Regions from separate parts of the Homo sapiens genome. Here region 2 is linked to region 1. Evidence: promoter capture Hi-C in 16 types of primary human blood cells and fetal thymus (Javierre and others, 2016). All regions are on one chromosome and are shown on one strand. The core of a region is centred on a gene start or on the middle of the fragment in contact, and the rest is flanking DNA. Distances in the headings are between cores, read along the strand shown.

Region 1 (3,743 bases), core at 830-3,329:
TGTACAGAAATCTGCCACCCAAGCCCACATTTCTGTCTGTAAATTCCCACAGTAAAACACCCTTACCAAGAAACTGGATTTGTCTGCCTCAACCTTTGGTGTCTTGGCTCCTCTGGCATTTGGGGGCCACTTTGCATATAGGGCCCTCTCATGGAACACCACCTGCTTCAGTTTGAATCCCAGCTCTGCCTCTTTGACCTAGGCTAGCTTACACGGTGCCTCAGTTTTCTTGTCTGTAAAATAGGGAAAATTATAGTACCTACCTCTTAGAGTTGTTATGGGAATTAAGAGTTAATATATATATATAAATCATTGGGACAGGGCCTGGCCATAATTAAGCAGTATTTAAGCACTGGCTATTATTGCCATTTCTGGCACTCTCCCTTCTCCCTAGACGGTTTTCTGTTGCTCTAGTGCACCCTGCTTTCTCTGACTGTGAACCCTCAGGTGGGGTCTTTCCTCTGCTCAGCACACTCTTGTCTATGTTGCTTGCCTACTAACTTCCCTCTGGCCTCCGCTCAAATGTTATTTCCTCAAATAAGCCTCTCCTGATCTAGAACTCCTCTCCCTTGTAAAAGCTCCCAGAGCTTTCTCTAATCCTCCTCATAACCTTCACCATGATTTATTTACAGTGATTACTTATTTAAGGTCTTCTCTGACAGTCCATGAACTCCGGGCGAGCAGAGATTATGTGTTCCTGGCTTCCTGCTGGACATCAGCACAGTGCCTAGTACACTATAGGAATGCCATAAATGTTTGTCAAATGCGTGAATGACTGAATAAGGAACAAAACAAATGAAAGGCTTTTATAAAGTTATAAAACCCAATACAAATATTAGGTAACACAATAATGAGAATGTGACAAAATGTGATGATTGCTAGGTAATCTAATGTTAAATTGGTAGGAATTAGTATTGTGTGAAGGAAACCCTCTCTTCTCCAATTTGCTATAAAATATATTAGTTCATTGGAACCCGTGTCTTTTAACCAAATGGAAATTATGCAAAAGGACCAGAAAATATTACTGGGTACAATTAAGGAATCACAGACAGATATTGATTGGTTAAAACACCCTCCACTTTCACCCCCAGGAAATAGGCCTCAGATGAAAGAAACTATTGAACAGGGAACCTATTTATTCACAGAGAACATATTCATGGCCTTAATTCAAGACAGGATTAAATACTTTCACGAGTTGGCAAAACCAACTGTGCCAATCTGAGATATTCATTGCTACCCTGGGAGTTAATGTATGTGACCCAAGCCATCAGGAAGACGATATTCTATTATCAATGAACACTCAAACACTAGAAAAATCATGATAGTTGCCACCATAATTCAAGATAGACACAATAAAGTGATTCTCCTGAGAATGTCTTCAAGGACTTATTGCTTCCTCTTCTCTGGAAAAAGGAATCCTCGAGGAGGAAGGGTTTACATTCCCCCACCTTCCCAACTGTCAGACTTCGGACCGCTCCTCTCCTGTCTAATCCGCCTTTCATTTCCCAGACGCCAACATCTGATCTCCAGGAGAAACAGTGCGGTAACTGCCTAACCAGGATTGGGGAAAACTGAACCAGGCACTGGACTTGGGTCTGGGGAGATAGAGGACTGCAGAGATTTCACAAACACCGCGGTGCCTAGTACACTATAGGAATAAGTGTACTATTCCTATAGTGTATACTTTTTTTTTTCCAGAAAAATCCCTCTGGGGTATGAGCACTATTTTCAGTTCTGGTTCAACTTTTCATTGAGATTCTATGTGGATAAGAGGATCTTGTAGTGAAAAAAAGATAAAAAGCAGTGTTTTCATCTGAGTGTGAGAAACCATGTGTGCCTAGAGGTGGGAGAACTGAGTATTCAGAAGGCAGAAAAAATAACTGAGAGCTGGGTGAATGATCCCACAGGCCCTAAGCCCTAGATGGTTGGGGATTAGCGATGTATAATTCAACTTCTGCCAGCGTTGGCGGCAGCGCTCCCACGTAGCCAGCCTGAGGCTGTCAAGCTCTGGACTACATTTCCCAGAAGGTCTGCTCCCCGGGCTGTCGCAATTTGAATTGGGGCGTGTCTAGAAAGAGAAGCCATAGTCGGCGAGCAACGCTGGAGCATCCCGCTCTGGTGCCGCTGCAGCCGGCAGAGATGGTTGAGCTCATGTTCCCGCTGTTGCTCCTCCTTCTGCCCTTCCTTCTGTATATGGCTGCGCCCCAAATCAGGTCTGTGCAAATGTATTGCCTTCTCTTGAGAATTCTTGTTGCGGGGCGGGAGGGAAACATAGAATCCCCACCAAAGCTTTCTTGGAAAACTCCCCTGGGGGGGCTCCAAGATGGCGGAGCCCAGAGTTCGGTGGGTTGGAGGCGAGGTCCAGCTGTCCTGGGTGCCAGGAGGACACCCGAGACCCCAGGCGGTGAGAAAGGGCGGCAGTCCGGGGCACACTGCTTTTCCCTGGCCTGTTTTTCTTTTGTCTAAGCACCCCCTGATTCTGGCTCCAGGGAATCCCGAGGGTAAGGCTACCTCAAACGCTTGAGTTTCGGACTCTTCAATGGGATATGGCCCGACGCTGTTTTCCCCTTATTCCCCACGCCTTAAACCAGCCTTCGAGGTACAAAGGAGCGATTCCACATTTCGCCCTCTGAAACTGATAGCAATCGTAACATCTGCGGCCCCATCCTTGCTCTCTCGTTGCTGTTACAATCGCTTGTTCTGTGGGCGGATGTTGTAAAGGAGAAAAGTGAAAAGGAAGAGTGTTTGGTTATGAGCTCTATCCTGCCTTGCGAGCAGGAGCACGGGGGATCTGAGTTAGGAGCTAGGGTACTGGGGCGGTGAGGGCTGGGAGAATGGTGGGAAGGTATTGACCAGGTGATAGATCAATCAGCCCAAGGCTGGCCAAGTGCCCCAGTGAATCAGCAGCGGGCTGTAAAACCGGCAGCCTGCTTATTGGTTCTAAGTAAATCACCAGTGGTGACGGACCAGTGACTGAATAGACAGACACACTCCTTCCCCAGGTGGGCGGTCTTAGTCCCAATAGAACTTGAAGCCAGGCCAGATCACAGTCATTTCTTACCACAGTCACCTACTTTCCTTCTTTTATTTTTATTTTCTCTTCCTTCTCTGGTGCCCCTCTTCCAGTTATATTTTTTCTGCCTTCTGAACACTCAGTTCTCCCACCTCTAGGCACACATGGTTTCTCACACTCAGATGAAAACACTGCTTTTTATCTTTTTTTCACTACAAGATCCTCTTATCCACATAGAATCTCAATGAAAAGTTGAACCAGAACTGAAAATAGTGCTCATACCCCAGAGGGATTTTTCTGGAAAAAAAAAAAATATATGTGTGTATATATATATATATATGTGTGTGTGTGTATATATATATATGTGTGTGTGTGTGTATATATATATATATATATATTCCAGGAGCTGTATTCCCAACTCAGCAGGGTTATGGGAGTCGGGCCAGAGCTGGACTTTTATAGTTGTCTCTTTCATTCCTGCTGGTTAAGGAGAAGAAAGAACTAAGTACAGGTCCTACTAAGTTGTCACTCCTGGAGCTACATACAGTAAGGGGATGTGGGAAACAGCCTAGAGGCTTGTTTTCTGAGGAGGGAGGTGATGGTTTGTGGGGACCATGAGTTAATCTGCCTCCCTGTCAGCATTTTCGCACTATGCAGGTAGCTTCAATGGCTAAGAGTATGTACCTTGCAATTCCAAGTTCAATGAAAAAGGCTGAAATGCTCTTTAAGA
Region 2 (3,743 bases), core at 440-2,939, 330 kb after region 1:
TAATTCTCTAGTATCAAAATGAATCCTCTCTACAGGCTCTTTTGCACTTTGCTTTTTCTCATCCTATCCTGGAGATCTTCCATATCAAAATATTCAGATCTCATTCTGCATAAAATTGCATTGCACGCATTTGTACTGATTTATTTAACCAGTCCCCATTTTGGTCATTTCCTGGTTTTAGTTAATGCCATACAAACAAATGCTATGGAAATATCTTTACATGTATCTACTGTACGTAAGCAAGTATGCCATTCCATATTTTTTCTGATTGCAACTAAAAACATATTTGATTCCTCCTTTTGTGTATATTTTATACAATAGAAAAAGAAGGCTGAGCACAGTGGCTCACACCTGTAATCCCAGTACTTTGTGAGGCCAAGGCAGGAGAATCGCTTGAGCCCAGTTCAAGACTAGCCTGGGCAACACAGCAAGACCCCATCTCTACAAAGAAAGTTAGCTGGGCAGGGTGGCACATGCCTGTAGTTCCAGCTACTTGGGAGGACTGCTTGAGGAACACTTGAACACAGGAGTTCAAGGCTGCAGCGACCTATGATCATACCACTACACTGCAGCCTGGGTGACAGAGCAAGACCCCAATTCTTAAAAAAAAAAAAAAAAAGTACAAGATTAGACACTACTTTAGGTACTACTAGGACAGTGATGTGAAGACTTACCTAAGTTTAACAAATAGTCTCAAAGTAGTTTAATAATTTTGGGCGGGGCTATAGCTAAGTCATAGCAAAACATTTAAAACAATCCATGTGCTAAGTAGCAGTCACTACCTAAGGCATAAGACATCCTCAAAATCTATGTATCATCTAAGGCTATAATAAAAAAAATTAAAATGTCAGTATGTATAAAATTAATCACTTGCAGAAGTGAGAAAGTATCAGTAAACCAGACGGCTGAGGAGATTCAGAAGGGTAAGTTGAATCAAGGTGACTGATATGAAGCCTTTCGGACATGATGGTAACTAATGACCTAAAACTAACACCTAACAAATTATAGTAAGATGGCTGAAACTAAAACCTACGTAATGGTATTGTACACCATGTTTAAAAAAAGAGTATTCACAAAGGTGATGATTTACATGGGGCCCAGAAAAGGCATCCAATAAGTAAAAAATGAATGCTCATCCAAAACTGTCTGAAAGATACCACGAGATCTGGTAGATGCAAACATTCTAATTACCAGCAAGATATACAATGTTGGATTTCAGGTGTGTATATACACGCATAGTATATTGCTTTTTCAAAGCTTATATAAAAGATCCCTAAAATCCATTTGCCCCATTTTCATGCTTACCCAGTGATCTCATTACTATTTTAGCTTTAAATCAAGAAAAAGGCATCCAACATATTCAGGCCTACCAATGTAAATGAACTAGTACTCTGACTTACCTGTCTCTAAGTTTGGTTACCATGAGTCAATTATCAAGATCCTGATAAACACTAGAAATAAAATTCAAGTTATCTGATCCATAAAATCCTAGGATGTACTAATTAAACTACTATTAAGAGATCTTGCTTAGATAGCTAATTGGCATCCTTTTCTAACAACTTTGTATGTAAAAGGTTTAAGTATAAAAGGAGCTTTTTTTTTTAAGCTGCAGCTTGCAATTTACAAAAAATGTATTTTTAAATAAACCATTTTAAATCTGAAATTTATATTACAGATATTTTTCTCACTTACCTTTTTCTTTGTCCACCCTAATGACAACCACACACTCATTCCTGCCAATTCGGATGAGTTTGTTGATAGAACGGATACGCCTTCTGGATAATTCACTAAGAAGAATCATGCCTTCAATGTTGTTGTATTCCAGCAAGCTGACATAAGCCCCCATTTCAGCAATGGATCTGACATTCACCATCACTACATCTTCCACCTCAGGAAATTTGTGTTGATAAAATCTACAACTTAGACCCGGCATTCTGCAATTTAAACAAAAGAATTAAGTAAGTATTCAGTTAAGGTGAAAATAAAAAAAAAATCAATTTCCACATCCTGCCACTGAAAGAAAAGATGAAGAAAAAAATAGTTATTAGTCTTAGTCTTCTCATCCTTTGAAACTTCTTAAGTGGTACCAGAAAACAGATAATGTTCAGGAACCAAGCTTTAATTTTTATTTTGCTCAACATTTTTGTAATGCTTGGGTGATTCTCTGCCTTTAGTTTCAGAGGAATCATAAAAAATAATGACCATCTATAAAGTACTCCAAGACCTAAGGATTAAAGGAATACCTCAAGAGTAAAATACTACTTTAAGGCATATCAAATGATGGGAAGCATCACTATTATAACTAATCAGAAAACTAAAGCTACTCTTTGCCGAAGTGAGCAAACATTGTATACGCTACCACTCACTATATAAAGGAAAAAATTTTCTACCTAAACCCTAACCAATATACCAAATGATACATTCTGTCATTTATTATAGCCAAAATTACAGTGTCACATGTCAAAACAACAAAAACTAAAAAAATTTTAATCACAAAATAAACTAAAATGCATCCTCCTCTCATAATTCTTTTTCCTTGAATTCACAATGTCTAGCTTCTCTTATCCCCAATACTCCCAAATATTCCTTTCTTTTATTGAATAGGTATACCTAATCTTGAGAATAGCTTTAATCTCCATTACTACAAAGTTCAAGTTTCTCTTAACCTCCAAGCATTAAAGATATTTACAATTATTCCCTTTGATCCACCCAACCTACTTTCAGCACTACTCCTTTTATGATCCACAAGCCTGAAATCATAGCCTGGGTAGAAGCATATTTAAAAAAGGAAGCTCTCAAACTAATCATGGCTGATGATTTTCATGTTTTTCTGTTAACCTTCACTGTTGTCACTGCTCAAAACGTAGGTAGTAACAGAACTTAAAGGCCTAAGAAAACCTTGTGAAAATTCATATAATAACTTATTAATTGGCACCTGCCTATATCTTCTCAGTGGCTTCCCACTGACTTATGTATCTTTCCACTACCTACAGAATCCTATATGATCTGGCCATTGCCTATCTCCTTGTGGTACAACTTTCTCCCTAGTTCTCCCCATTTTATAGATTAAAAAACTGAAGCACAGGTTAAGTTACTTGTTCTTTCACATACTGCTAACAGGTGATGAGTCAGGATTTGAATCCATGAAGTCTGGATCCAGAGTCTGTCCTCTTATCAGTAAGACTATATTCTCTCAAAACTATTCATAAATATATTATAATTAGAAACATTTTACTTAAAAAGCAACATTAATATATATTCAGTGCCAGAGTACATAACACCAATAAGTGCAAACTATTAGTACTCATCTGTTTGACAACAAAGAGCAGCATATTAATGACAGTAGCAGAGATGTATTTCTTTGTAGGGAATACAAAATCCCTACAAAATAGGGATTTAGCAAATAAAGAGAAGTAGACATTCAATGGCCTTACCCACCAAGAAACAGCTGACTGTTTGTTTCGTTTTTAAACAGGGCTTTTCGAGGGTGGGGGTGGGGAAACTGTTGTTGAATATGTGTATGTAAAGCTCTCAAATTTGAGAGCTAAAAAGTTTCAAATTGGGCATAAAAATAAACTATGTTACAGAAATGTATGGAACAGTTGCAAGACATTTGACCAGTGAAAACCACATTTACTTACCAAGCTTCTCCAAACAGTAAAGGTGATGCTTTTAGGGGAAGCAAGGCTTAATTTGATGGTTAAAAAACATGGGCAATCATGTAAGAGAATCCTGAAGGGATA

Evidence for each region. Contacts are between HindIII fragments. The CHiCAGO score rates a contact against its expected background, and 5 or more counts as called.
Region 2: a contact is called between a fragment that was not itself captured here and the fragment with the promoter of RDH11 in region 1, in 2 of 17 cell types (fetal thymus and naive B cells). The highest score is 7.0, in fetal thymus.

Annotation. Positions count from the first base shown.
Region 1 is chr14:67,694,100-67,697,842 of GRCh38, reverse strand. It overlaps RDH11 (retinol dehydrogenase 11), which reads left to right and starts at 2,079. Exons shown (of 7, transcript NM_016026.4): 1 at 2,079-2,213. The coding sequence starts at 2,140. It also overlaps a transcript of GPHN not described here. RefSeq lists enhancers at 1,762-1,811, 1,832-1,881, 1,926-2,562 and a silencer at 2,912-2,971. The HindIII fragment of the contact is 2,925 bases long and covers 1-2,291 here.
Region 2 is chr14:67,362,958-67,366,700 of GRCh38, reverse strand. It overlaps EIF2S1 (eukaryotic translation initiation factor 2 subunit alpha), which reads right to left. Exons shown (of 8, transcript NM_004094.5): 2 at 1,693-1,934. The coding sequence starts at 1,933. It also overlaps a transcript of GPHN not described here. Among named protein-coding and RNA genes, the nearest start is that of EIF2S1, 4.5 kb to the right of the region's middle. The HindIII fragment of the contact is 859 bases long and covers 1,260-2,118 here.